2 separate regions of the Homo sapiens genome follow, and region 2 is linked to region 1. The links are contacts of gene promoters, found by promoter capture Hi-C in human tissues and cell types (Jung and others, 2019). All regions are on one chromosome and are shown on one strand. Each heading gives the region's core, a stretch centred on a gene start or on the middle of the fragment in contact. The rest is flanking DNA. Distances are from core to core; before and after follow the strand shown. Region 1 holds the start of CDH10 (cadherin 10). Region 2 has its middle 130 kb from the start of TRK-CTT9-1.

Region 1 (7,578 bases), core at 5,003-7,502:
GTTCCTACATCTTGACAAGCTCTGAGAAAATTTCCCAAGTTTTTTGTATGCCTCACCAGTGCCAGTGCATGTTTACAATCCGCATTTGCATTCTTAAAAGCTAGAGTTAAGGTTAGCATTTCTGCAGCCGCCTCTTGTAATCTTGACACTTCACTGCCTCTTGTAATCTTGCAAGAAATTGCATATAGGTTCCTGCGACCGTTGTATGATATGTTAAAAGGATTTTACTGGGACTCGCTCTTCAGGAATTGTGGCCCAGGCACGTTTAGCGGCCTGTGCACACTGCTGATGAGCAGTGTCTGCAAGTGCCATTTGACGTTCCAGGTCTGAATAAGGGCCATTACCTAACAGCATATCCTCTGTAATGTCTGTGTGTCCAGCAACATGGTTCTGTTTAGCCTGGTCTGCACACATTTCTTGCCAATTTAAATTCCATGTCAGATATGCACTAGCGGACAAGCAAGTTCATGCCAAGTATCTCACATCAAAGGGTAAAAATGCATAGCACCAAACACAGATTCTAGCAATCCTAAGGTGAATGGGCTCTGTATGCCATTATTTACCACAGTCGCTTTTAATTCCTTCAACAACTTAAACTCTAGCGGAGTGTGTTCATGAATAACCTGCTGTGGATTGTTTGGATTAGGCCTTACGGAAATAGGAAAAGCGTGAGGTCCTAAGGGCTCTCCAGCTATGACAGCAGAGCGTAAAATTATTTGTATTGGGGTTTCTATTTCTGCTACCGAAGGAGGCGGTACAGATGTTTCTACAAATGGAGAAGGTGGTATAGGCCAATTTTTATCCTCCCTTTCCTGTTTTTTATTTTCAGTTGGAGCTGTGGGTGGAACAACAGATTCTTTCTTTCTTTCTTTTTTTTTTTTTTTTTTTTTTTTTTTTTTGAGATGGAATCTCGCTCTGTCACCAGGCTGGGGTGCCCTGGTGCAATCTGGGCTCACTGCAACCTCCACCTCTCAGGTTCAAGCGACTCTCCTGCCTCAGCCTCCCGAGTAGCTGGGACTACAGGCACATGCTATGACACCGAGCTAATTTTTGTATTTTTAGTAGAGACGGGGTTTCACCATGTTGGCCATGATGGTCTCGATCTCTTGACCTCGTGATCCGCCCTCCTCAGCATCCCAAACGGCTGGGATTACAGGTGTGAGCCACCACACCTGGCCGATTCTTTCAGATTTTTAGACTCAGCCTGCTGTCCAGCAGAATAATAAGGAGATAATGGCAGAAGTACAGTACGAACTAAACTCCAAGTGGAGAAAACAGAAGAGTCAACTTTATGAGGCAAAAGAGAAAGTGAGAAGTGGGGTGGAAGAAGGGGTCAGCTGCTCAGTCTAGAGTAGGCTTGTGAGACTGTATTCTCTAGATGTCGCAGTAGATAACCTCAGCACCAGGGAGTGATGGCCTCCAGCAAACCTTCTGTTGGCAGGAGCAGTCCTGAGTTTGCTCAAATCCTGCATTCATGATAAACAGTTTGCTGTTTGATCATACAGCCTCCAGTGGAATGCTGAGTTGGTCACGTCCCAGGGGCCTTTGGGCCTTCGGCTCCCTGCAGTTAGATAAGGGAAGTTCCAGAGAGAACACTTGAGGGGAAGAAACAAGAGAAGGTGAAGAAGTCCTTGCTTCTGAGGCAGTTTCTAAGGCCTTTCAATTTCCTTTAATTGAAACATGCTCAGTACACCAAAGCACCATACTTTGAGGTATTGTTCTCTGCGTTCCCAAAAAAGTCAAGAAAGCAAGCAGTAACCTTTATACCTAAAGCACAGAGAGCATAGTAACTTCTAAAGAGAAGGGGCATGAGACAAAAATAAATTTAAGATCATATGTTCTTTAATTAACTATTGATTGTCAGAATGATTACATTTTTTAAAACATAGCTAACTATTTGACACTTCATTTTTTTCTCAGGATTGATTCTCCCTTTTTCCACCCTCAAGTTATAGGACTTTTGAAATGTTGAGATATGATTAAGTAGAAAAATATCAGTAACAGTTCAGTTGCAGATAACAGAAACCGCTCTCACTATTTTAGACAAATAACAATTTAATTTTGAATGATGTGTGGTTAACAACCTAAGTAGAAAGAGAGGGACTAGGTGAAGATCAAAGTACTTCTAGCTCCCAGGATCACACATTCATTGTCCTGGTTCAAAAAGCTCCCAGGCCGGGGCGCAGAGGCTCACATCTGTAATCACAGCACTTTGGAAGGCCCAGGCAGGCGGATCACGAGGTCAGGAGTCTGAGACCAGCGTGGCCAACACAGTGAAACCCTGTCTCTATAAAAAAATACAAGAATTAGCTGGGCACGGTGGCAGGCACCTGTAATCCCAGCTACTCAGGAGGCTGAGGCGGAGAATCACTTGAACCCAGGAGGCAGAGGTTGCAGTAAGCTGAGATCATGCCACTGCACTCCAACCTGGGTGACAGAACTAGACTCCGTCCCCCCCTCCCAAAAAAAAAGCTCCCAATACTGCCCCCAGATTATGGTAACTGCAAAACCATGCTTCCTCAGCTACTATGGTAGTGAAATAAATACCTTGCATCTTGCCTTTCTGCTTATTTAACTCTGTTTCTAATTAAAGATGATGAGGGCATCTGAAAAACTGAATATGAATCACCCTCCACTCCTACCTCAAACACTAGCTGTAAGGAAAATGTGATTTTTAATTTTCCAAGTCTGTACAGTCCTTTAAGGCAGACTAGAAGGAGTTTAGCAAAAATGTTGTCAAACAGACTATGACAAATTATTATTCTGCCAACATATTTATGGAGAGTGAAGCAATGTGGACACTCTTTACTTTTGTTTCATAGACTTAGTGAGATAACTAGGTTTCAGTAACTTCCTAACAGAAAATGGAAATTGATATTATTTTTCATAACATTCAAAGAAACCGAGGAAAGGGTGGCTAAGAAGCTAGTGTTTTAAAATAAGCACATAGCTGCTCAGCAAGTAAAGTCTTGTGCAGTTAAGCTTATTGTTTAGCAACAGCATGACAACTTCTAGGCATGTAATAGTTTCATACAAAATGGAAGGTTGTTTCATTTAATTGATTTTACTCAAATTGGATCTTTCACATTTGCAATGAAGAGATCAGCCGTCATTGAGTCCCATTATTATATTAATAATAGAATGCTTTCAAATTTTCTTAGTGCTGTATGATTGTAGTAAGGTATTTTCTGTGCAATTTCCTATTTAGTTTTAAAAGTTGTATATAGAAATATATTTGCAAAAGTTTTCATTAACTTTTATTTGCTTGTAGTTGATATATGGCCTCTCCTCATATTAAAGGACATTTCTGCGAGATATTGACCCATTCATTTCATTGAGAGTTTACTGTCCCTTTTACATTTCATTTATTCATTTCACTTCCCACGTGCTACCAGTTTCCTGATATTGGTAACAACAGGAAAACCCTATCTAATTCACAAGACTATTTCACATAAGATTTGGAGGGAAAATTATAAAGAAATAGAAAAACTTGCAGAATCCTAAGTTAACTCATTTATATTGTGAAATAAAGAAAATGAAAAATAATATTGTTTAATAAAACAAAACCCATTGTCAGAAGTTTTACATTTTAGTCAATGTTCTGTTTATTCTTTATTTTAATTTTAATTACTAGGGCGTATATTCGATAGGATGGCATTTGATCTCAGATATAGAGTCTTTCTAAGATGAGCATTAAGAAAAATGTGAATGGGTTTAATTCATTTATTGTTCAAATGTTTTCCTCTTCATTCTCTCACATCTATAACTAGATCCCCTGAACTTTGGAATACATGGATGCTTTGCCTATTATTTATTAATTATATTACTTGATCAAAAAAAGAAAAAATGCAATAACTGACAATTGTTTCATAAATGTTAAAATATTATTAACGTTATTTTGTATAGATACCTTTCACTAGCATTATAACATAATTTTAATTTTAAACTAGAATAAAAATTTGCTTTTCTCCAAAAAAGTACATTATACCAAATATACTACTCTATAATACATGAATATAATAGACAATCCTGCTGTTTGTACCCAATTCTGTCACCTCCCTAATAGCACCAGTGACTTTAGCTGGGCAAATAGTGAGAGTAAATACCACATCCCCAGCCTCCCTAGCAACAATGTGTGACCAAGTGTCTAAATTCCACCCAATGAGATCATGAAAGTGACATGTACATGTTCAGGGTCACATTTTTCAAAGGACGGGAGCAACTTTCTCTTGTTCCTTTTATTCCTTTTTCTAGAAGGTAGATGTGTGGTGATCTCTCCTGGATCATATAAATGAGTTCAATTCCTTAAAAACATTGAGCATCAAGACAGAAGGAAGCTGAGTTTCTGATGACTAGACAGGGCAGAATAAACACACCAACCAAAAACCTATGTAAGAGAAGCATAAACTATATAATTCAGAAAATGTTATTTTGGGAATACATCATTTCAACATGTATTCTAATTAATAAAATAGCAATTTACCTCAGATCTTAGCCTTTGGTTATTTTCTCGACCCATTTAAATGTAACCCCCAAATTCTTCACATTATGTAGTCATACATTTTGAAATTAGCACTAAACAAACATATGGAAATAGTTAATTTAATAAGAGAACAATGTGTGTGTGTGTACCTAACCTGCTGCATTTAATTAAATATTATAAATTTCTCTTGATAGCTAATTTAACATGTCAATAACAGTATTATATTGAATACACACATATACCAGGCAAACACAAATACACACAAATATACGTATCAGAGGTAAAAAACTGAATATCTATTTTCACTTGACTCTGAAATTAAGGCACCCTGTCGAAGAAAACATACAAAACATAACAAAAACTATGGGCAAATGATACGGTGATAATTCAGAATTCTAGCTCTATTATTATCAAACTTTAGAGGGGCCATAAAATTTTCCTGATCTTAATGCCATCGTCTGTAAAATTAAGAGTTTCAAAAGTCCATTTCTGCTCTAAATGTCATTTAGCTGTTCAGCTCAGTGGAAATGTTTGGTGTTTTCAAATATAAAACTAATTGGTAAAATTCATCATATAATAACACTGTGATACATTAAAACCTTTTTGGAATCTAATTTTGAATCTCCCTCTCACTTCTTTTTTGCCCCTCAGATTGAGTTTCTTCCTTTTTCATTGTGCTGATTATGTAAGGGGCCTGTTGACTGTTAGAATGATCAAACAGGTACAGAGGAGGCAGTATGGCAACCGGAAACAATACTAAACTGGAAGTAGGAGTGTGGTATTACAGCTTTGACCCCGCCTCCAGTTAGTCCTGTGACAATTTAACATTCTGAGCATTTTTATCTGCTAAAGAAATAATAATAATAACAGCCCAAAATGATCTTCGTAATTTCTCCTCTAGCTTTAAAACTATAATTGACATATATGTATTTATATGCATATATGTATGTATATGTGTATATAATTTATTTATGGATGGCACTTTAAAAGGAATCTACCTGTAGCCGGAAAAATGCAAAGATGTTAATTACTTTGTGGAGCTATACTGACATCCTTTGGTAAGGTTTGGTTGATTGCAATTTGATGTGGAGATTGATAAATAGCGAGACAGTTAGATGTTTAAGTAGATAGAACAATCCAAATGTATTTACATCTGTCCACACACTCATTTGGGTATGAAACCCGTATTTATGAGAAAAAACAACGTTAAAAAGAAAAAAAAGGAGACTGTGTCAAGTTCAAAGTCTAAATATTTTAATAACACTAATTACATATTTACATTTTTAATAAAATATTTTATCTATAAAGTATTAAAATGCAAAGATTAGGCAGAGAAGACTGGCTCGCGGACATTCCAAAATGATGAGCGAGGTATGCACTCCTGTGACAATAAGCAACAAGAGAAGGGATTTGGAAAATCAAGCCGAGAAAGTTCCCTGAAAGCAAAAAATAAACATTTAAAATCACAACGAAAAATCACTCTGGTAACATATCAAATCTGGTTGCAATTTGACTTGGCGCTCTGATAATACTTGGATTTCGGTAGTCTGGTGTAAGGACGGTGCAGGAATATATATTCCAGAAGAACTATCTTTTTTTAAAAAAAATTGCAAGAAGCAGTCCTGTTCCTGAGATTGTATTACGGACACAGGCGGATTAGATTGGGCTGATTACCTTAGCCTTGAAACAGAGAGTCTTTCTGCCCTGCGGGGGAGGGGACGCCTTTCAAGCAAAGCCCTCCTCTCGGATGCGCCCTCCCCTCGCATTCACTTGCAAATCGCTGTGTGCTCGCAGAAGCCAGCACTTCCACAGTCTCTAACCTTCCCATGGCGAGTGCTGCAGCTCTATCAGCAGAACCTTTCTCTCCGTGTGAGGAAGAGCTTTTTTCCCCCCTTTCCTTTTTTTTTTTTTTCCTTTCCCCTTAATCAGAAGCACTGAATGAAAGCCAATCAGAGAGAGCTCGCCCCCGTTTTCTTCGGTTCCCTGCTGTCCAGAGTTAAAAGTGATGCTGAGAAAGAGCTTGAGTTAGATTGAAGTAGAATCAGTGATAGAAAATAACAGCCGAAAACAAACAAAAAGGGGACATAGTGACAATTTCTCCTGGGTTATTTTGGCTGGAACCAACTTCCATTATCCAGAAGCTGATAAAAAAGGTAGGAAGACTTCACCTCTTTCTTTTAACTCCGTTAAGGTATTATATATTCCTCCACTTGAGGGGTGGGGGGGGAGAGGGAGGAGATAAATGTTTGTTTTTAAGTTGTGTTTAGCAATTATTTCAAAATAATTATCTTTAATACTTAAATAAGCATACAACTCTATATATTTAATTCTAGAAACAACTGCTTCGAATATCTATATAGGCAATGTAAAGCTGGATAAATTATATATTATGCTCAACAGTGGGTCATGATATTAGAGTTTGTGAATTCATTCACTTGGAACAAATGCTAAAAAATATGTTATGAAGTGAATTTGTCATGCCCAGACTTGTTCATTTTTATTTTAAAAATCAGTTCAAGAGATAACATTGTTACTGTGAACTCTAACATCATCTAACATTACTTTGCATTCCATATGAATGGATTCACTCTGCACTTATTCGTAGTCATAGTTCATTGTACGTTCAATATAAACAGAAATGACAGGCAGAAGACAGATTCCTTGAAACTGTCAATGGTCACTAAGCATCTACATAAATACAATAGATTGACATTCATCAGAAATAGAATAGGCAGAATTCTTATTTTCAATTTTATATCTGAGTCAGAAGTATTGGGGGGAGAGAGGTAAAGAGAGGGAGAGTAAATGCATGTAGTCAGCAGTTGCAGCATTTATTGTTTCTGCTGCAATAAAATCCATATTTTATGTGTTGTTAAATTAATGCAGCATATTGCAAGTATAAATGCATGTCCCCAACAAGTAACTATTGATAGCACTGTAACTATGGGCAAAAGCAGTAGTCTGAAATTGTTTTTATGCCACTAAAATAAAAACCTACTGTCTCCTTATTATGAAAAAAGGGGAGTCTACAGGTACAAAGACAAATATTGTTTTAAAAATGACCTATCATCTTTTGCTTTGAAAAAACAGATGTT
Region 2 (6,697 bases), core at 2,152-4,651, 1.7 Mb before region 1:
TATACTACCAGTTTTATTATCTTTATGCTTCTTTTCAGATATTTCATTGGTTTGTAAAAATGCTTTCTTTTTAAGTTAAACAAAATTACCATTTATAGAAAATCTCTTAATATACCATAACCTACTTGACCCATTATCCTTGTTGAAATATGAATTTTACTACAGTTTTCTTGTGATCATTACACAGTGCCATTCAGAACATTTTTAGAGTTTCTTTTTCAAAAAGCAACAAACAATAACATTAAAAATGTCAAAATAAACACAAACAGTAGAAAACAATAAAACATACCTTCAAAAAAGGCAAAAGGAGGAAAATTTTCTAAAGAACTGAAGTCAGAGAAAATAAAATATAAAGTGGAAAGGAGATTAAAGATGTACTTTTAAACTTCCCAAAGGAAATATATTTGCTATTTTACTAATCACTGTGAGCCTGCCTAAGGAAGATAATCATATATTCATATCTCAATCTTTTTGAGTTTTATTTTTACCTCATTGTGTAGAAAAATGAAATAACCTCTTATAGTATTAGTTTTACGAGAGAAACTTGAAAACTATATAAAAGATACACCATCATGCTCACACACAGACACAAACACACACACATGCACACACAAATGCACACACACAAAATAATGGACTGTTCAGAGCAAATAGAGCTATTGGTAATTAAACTATGAAAGTCATCTACTACTTCTGTTTTCCTGGAATTAAATCTTAACTGAACTGAGCAATTTTTAGTATATTATTTAAGGCTATTCACAATTACTACTTTACTTTATCTACAATGATATGTTGTGTAATGTGATGTAAAAGGCATGTGTATTGGTTAGTGTTTGAATCAAAGTGCTGTCTTCATAACCTGGAAACCCATGTACTAATTTACTCTCATTTGTATGAGTTTGAAAATTGGACTTTATAGAAAATTTAAACATCATTAAAGAGTGTACTCACATTCTAGGGAAAGCTGGAATGAGCTAATTTGAGTGCATATTCTGCATATATGCATCTTATGTTTCAAGATTAGTGAAAGAAGAAAGCCTTAATGAGGAGAAAGCTACTTTTCTGCCAGTGATGCAATATCAGTGAATAGTATTGTTAGCCAATTACTCGGGAATTTTATAGAAAAATATATTAAAATTAGGATTGAATATATAGTTCAAGCACATATAATAGTTGTATAACAATGAAATGTGTATACTATCACCCATTCTTAAAATATAGTGATTCAAGAGGATATTTCCTTTGCTATTTTTCTTTACTGCTTGGTCTCTATTTTTAATTCCTCTGGGTGATTTTCCCACTGATTCTCTCTTCCACTAGATGTCAGGCAAGAGGAGGGAGTGGTAGTGAATCTCAAACTACGACTACAGTTACTTTTTAAAGTGTTGGAAATTGATGACTAAACATAGCTAAAGTGAATAGCGATCAGGCATATGGAAGATAAAATGCTCCGATAATTAATTTGAAATAATATTAATAACATCAGCTGCAGAAGGAACTGTATTCTCTCACAGTAATTCCAATCTCTGTTTTATCTTCCTGAGGGAAAAAAAATTCCCTGACTGTTTAGCAAGTTTAGTTCCACTTATGCTTTCCTAAAACAACATGCACTTCTCCTTTGTAGCATTCAACACAATTTTAATTGAATAATTAATTTTGTCAAGGTTGACTGAATGCATATTCACTACCTCCTTTCAAATATAAACCTTGTGAGGTAGGGACTAAGTCTGTTTCGTTAATTGTTTTATTCACAGACTGTAGCATAATACATTGGCAGATAGAAAACTTTAAAAAAAAATCATGCACTGAAGACATGACTAAATAAAAGGAATAAATATGAAATAATGAACAGATGAATGATGATATGAAGTTATCCATTTCTAGCAGGAACATATTTCATTTTTAGATTCATTGTTCAGGCTCAATTTATTTATTTCTCTTAAAAACTTACAAGACTCGTGAGAATGCTCTGGCCTCTTTAGTAGACTAGCTATAATATGATGGTTAAAATATCCTTAGAAGGAAGCACTAATGACACTATTGATACATAATGGATGATTCCCACAATAAAAAGGGGCACAATTTAGAAACGCATATTCTACTTGAGAACATAAATATATGAGTGATTTGAGCATATTATGCATGTTTTTACCATGTGATAGTTTATTATGTTACATGCCAATTCCTCTAGTGAGCACTTAAAATGCACAACAGAAGATGACTTATCATCCTTGCTTCTCCTTGCCCAATTCGTGTTCCATGCTATTGAATTAACTACTTCTTCTCCCTAGAAAAATCAATCTCCCTCATTCTTAATGGACGTGAAGATTTTCTTACTTACTTCTCAGGAAACCTCTACATGCCACCTTCTCAATAAATCATCCCCCAACTCCCTAGGTATATAATTGCCGGTTCTCTTTGTTCCCATGCACATTTATGTAAGTAAGATCTGCAATAACACGTAGCAAGTTTTATTGCAGCTTATAGCATATATGCATGTTTCTTGCCAAGTATTAAATGCCCTCACAAAGGGAACCATATTTATTATCTGTAGGCCTTTGCAGAGTAATACAAGTTAGATACCTAGTAAATATGTTGAATAATTTAATAACATAATAAACTGAGTATAAAGTGAGGGAAGGTGAAGAGTTTTATCATTTAGAGTAGGTACTGAAATAGCATAATCAATTAAGGATTCAGTCCCATTAAATTAGGTAATCTGAGTATAAGTCAATAATCAAATTTTAAGCATTGCCTCTTTCTTTTACTTCCAAGATCAGAGATTCAGCTATTTACTTTCAGGGCTACGGCATATCTTATTTTGCTAGTTTCCAGGAATAATTTGTCTTTGCTTCATGATGTCATATTTCATTTTCCTCTGATACCTTCACTATCTCACATCAGAAGTTTATTCTTTAGAAATCTTCGTTCTTTTTCACAGTTCTCAACATTTAGATCGTAACATACATGGATGCAATTCATCAATCAATAATTAAGTTAGCATTAGTGAATTCTATATTTTTATCTTATTGCCTTTACAAAATAGGAAATTTGAAGTGGGTTATTTCTGTTCACAATAATCTAGTATTTCTTACTTACAGTAAATTCCATTATGACAATTGAGAGTAGAATGAAGAATGGAGGAGGAACTTCTCTGCGAAAACAAATAATTTTGTAAGCTTTTTCCTCAATGCACTAATTAAGTGGGAGACCATGGATTTCATTAGGAAAAGATGTTATGGCTGAGGCTGGTCACTGGAGCACAGAAGTTCAAGACAAGCCTGGGCAACATAGCAATACCCCATCTCTACAAAAGTAAAAAATAAATTAGGCAGGAGTGGCAGCATACAGCTATGGTTTCAGCTACTTGGGAGGCCGAGATGGGAGGATCATTTGAACATGGGAGGTCAATGCTGGAGTGAACTGTGTTCACACCACTGCACTCCAGCCTGCACTCCACTTATTCCAGAGTAACATTCTGTCTCAAATTTTAAAAAAGAAAAAAAAAGGAGGAGAGAGAAAGAGAGAGAATATGGAGCCAGGCACATATCGTATCCTATCTCAAATGTATTTTCAGTGCCTTATTTTTACAATTTAACTACATCCACATATTGAAGTGTACTCTAGTCTTTCCTGATAAAATAAAAAGCAAAACATATGAAAACATACAAACACAATAACAGTGTCTGTTTATATCTCACACTTTTTTCTCCTGTTACTAGCCCATTTCTTTCCTCTTAAGTTCTATACTCATGATCTTCCTTTCATAACACTTACAACACATCAATAAACCTACATTTTTATCCCTAAGGTTATCATTGACTTTCATGTTGCTAAATTCAATAGACATTATCAGTTTTCATTCTCGGATTATTTTCACATTTTTTTACGGTGGAATTTTCTTCTCATTCTCTTTTGACTCCTCTACATTGTGTGCGTGCGTGTGCACGAGCACGTGCATGTGTGTACCAATGCATGTGAATGTGAATTGTGTATATACATGTAAGGTTTTCTTCTTTTTTTTCTCTTTTTTTTTTTTTGGAGACCAAGTCTCGCTATGTCGCCCAGGCTGGAGTGCAGTGGCATGATCTCGGCTCACTGCTAGCTCCACCTCCCTGGTTCACGCCATTCTCCTGCCTCAGCCTCCTGAGTAGCTGGACTACAGGCACCTGCCACCACACCCGACTAATTTTTTGTATTTTTAGTAGAGACGGGGTTTCACCGTATTAGACATGATGGTCTCAATCTCATGACCTTGTGATCCGCCTGCCTCAGCCTCCCAAAGTGCTGGGATTACAGGCGTGAGCCGCCGCGCTTGGCCTATACATGTTAAGTTTTTAAGGATAATATCTGTTCTGATAAATCTACAACAACAAAGGATAATGTTTAGCATATAGATACCACTTAGTAAATGTTTATTAAGTGATTTGCTATAATGTAAATGATGGCAGCAATGAGCAGTGGCTGCTGCCAAGACACCAGCTGCAGTGGGGTAGGTGTGGCTGGGCTGCATGCTCCATGGAGCGGGCGGGAGCTGATATCAAGCGGTAGCCTCACCCTCCTGGGTACAGCTATAGAGCCACGGCTGCGGACCCGGGCATCTCTGTACCCTGCCCCACTTTCAGGCTCAGAGATGTCTGCTCCCATTGCCTGACTTCTTCCAGCTCCTGGCACCAATCTTGAAGGGAGGTTGGTCCTGAATCCAGGTGTTTTCACAGCCTGGCCGGGTGTACACATGTTTGGGGTAGCGCTGACACGCAAGCTCCCCGCTATGTCGCCCCCGCCGGACTTTGGGTGCTGATGAGCATGTGAGGGAAGCTGAGGGGAGGTGAAGGGCAGCTCAGTGCTGTACTGCAGGTGCCGCTTCACGTAAACAGCCTGGGCTCCATGAACAGCGGCAAGAGACAGACAGGCTCCTAGGTGGAAGGGGACGTGTCCCTAATAAAGCTCCACCTTCAAGCTGGGAGGACTTGAATCCCAGGGCAGGCTGCGGGTCCTGCGGACTAGAATGGGGACTTGTGGGGTTTTTTCAGGGCCCACCATGGCCACCCATGGACCAATCGGCATGCACTTCCTCCCCTCTGAGGTCCATAAAAGCCCTGAACTGAGCCATACTTGAGGACATGACAGGATGGCAAGCTGTGGAGATGAACCACCCACTCCAGGGTCTCTTCTTTGCTCAGAGTTGAACATTCTTTGGGTCACCCTGACAGCAAAGAGGAGCTATGCATTGTGGGTCTCCTCTGAGCTGCTCAATAAAACTCCTCATTGCCTTGCTCACCCTCCACTTGTCTGCGTACTTCATTCTTCCTGGGTGCAGGACAAGAACTCCGGCACTGCCTACTGGCAGGGTTAAGAGAAATGAGACACAAACAGGGCTGAAACATGCCCCTTGCTTGCCACGTTGTGGGTGACAAGAAGGAGAGAAGAGAGAAGGAAAGAAGAGCTGCAGCCCTACAGGGAGCTCAGACCTGGGAAATCCCCAAGCCAGTGCTTCCGGAATTGGTGGGTTCTTGGTCTCACTGACCTCAAGAATGAAACCGCAGACCCTCGCGGTGAGTGTTACAGCTCTTAAGGTGGTGTGTCTGGAGTTTGTTCCTTCTGATGCTCGGATGTGTTCGGAGTTTCTTCCTTCTGGTGGGTTCGTGGTCTCGCTGGCTCAGGAGTGAAGCTGCAGACCTTCGCGGTGAGTGTTACTGCTCATAAAAGCAGTGTGGACCCAAAGAGTGAGCAGTAGCAAGATTTGTTGCAAACAGGGAAAGAACAAAGCTTCCACAGGGTGGAAGGAGACCCGAGCGGGTTGCCACTGCTGGCTGGGGCAGCCTGCTTTTATTCTTTTATCTGGCCCCCACATCCTGCTGATTGGTAGAGCCCAGCGGTCTGTTTTGACAGAGTGCTGATTGGTGCGTTTACAACCCCTGAGCTAGACACTAAAGTTCTCCACGTCCCCACAAGATTAGCTAGATACAGAGTGTGGACACAAAGGTTCTCCAAGGCCCCACCAGAGTAGCTAGATACAGAGTGTGGATTGGTGCATTCACAAACCCTGAGCTAGACGCAGGGTGCTGATTGGTGTGTTTACAAACCTTGAGCTAGATACAGAGTGCCGATTGGTGTATTTACAATCCCGGAGCTAGACATAAAGGTTCTCCAAGGCCCCACCAGACTCAGGAGCTTAGCTGGCTTCACCCAGTGGATCCCGCACCGGGGCTGCAGGTGGAGCTGCCTGCCAGTCCCACACTGGGCACCCGCACTCCTCAGACCTTGGGTGGTCGATGGGACTGGGCGCCATGGAGCAGGGGGCTGCTCTCACTGGGGAGGCTTGGGCCACACAGGAGCCCATGGAGGGGGTGGGAGGCTCAGGCATGGCTGGCTGCAGGTCCCGAGCCCTGCCCCCCGGGAAGGCAGCTAAGACCTGGTGAGAAATCGAGCGCAGCGCTGGTGGGCTGGCACTGCTGGGGGACCCAGTACACCCTCCGCAGCCGCTGGCCCGGGTGCTAAGCCCCTCATTGCCCCGGGCCGGCAGAGCCGGCCGGCTGCTCCCGCCGGCTGCTCCCGCCGGCTACTCCCGCCGGCTGCTCCGAGTGCGGGGCCCTCCAAGCCCACGCCCACCCGGAACTCCAGCTGGCCCGCAAGCGCCGCGCGCGGCCCCGGTTCCCGCTCACGTCTCTACCTCCACACCTCCCTGCAAGCTGAG

Evidence for each region. The method cuts DNA at HindIII sites, captures the fragments that hold promoters and counts their contacts. A contact is called where the count stands out against the background at its distance.
Region 2: a contact is called between a fragment that was not itself captured here and the fragment with the promoter of CDH10 in region 1, in 1 of the 25 tissues and cell types used here (dorsolateral prefrontal cortex).

The regions. Positions count from the first base shown.
Region 1 is chr5:24,643,652-24,651,229 of GRCh38, reverse strand. CDH10 (cadherin 10) reads left to right here and starts at 6,252. Exons shown (of 12, transcript NM_006727.5): 1 at 6,252-6,636. LOC124901174 (a long non-coding RNA gene) reads right to left here and starts at 6,521. Exons shown (of 2, transcript XR_007059125.1): 1 at 6,158-6,521; 2 at 5,716-5,919. RefSeq lists an enhancer at 5,960-6,555. The HindIII fragment of the contact is 10,153 bases long and covers 1,434-7,578 here.
Region 2 is chr5:26,324,398-26,331,094 of GRCh38, reverse strand. No RefSeq gene overlaps it. Among named protein-coding and RNA genes, the nearest start is that of TRK-CTT9-1, 130 kb to the right of the region's middle. The HindIII fragment of the contact is 6,629 bases long and covers 87-6,697 here.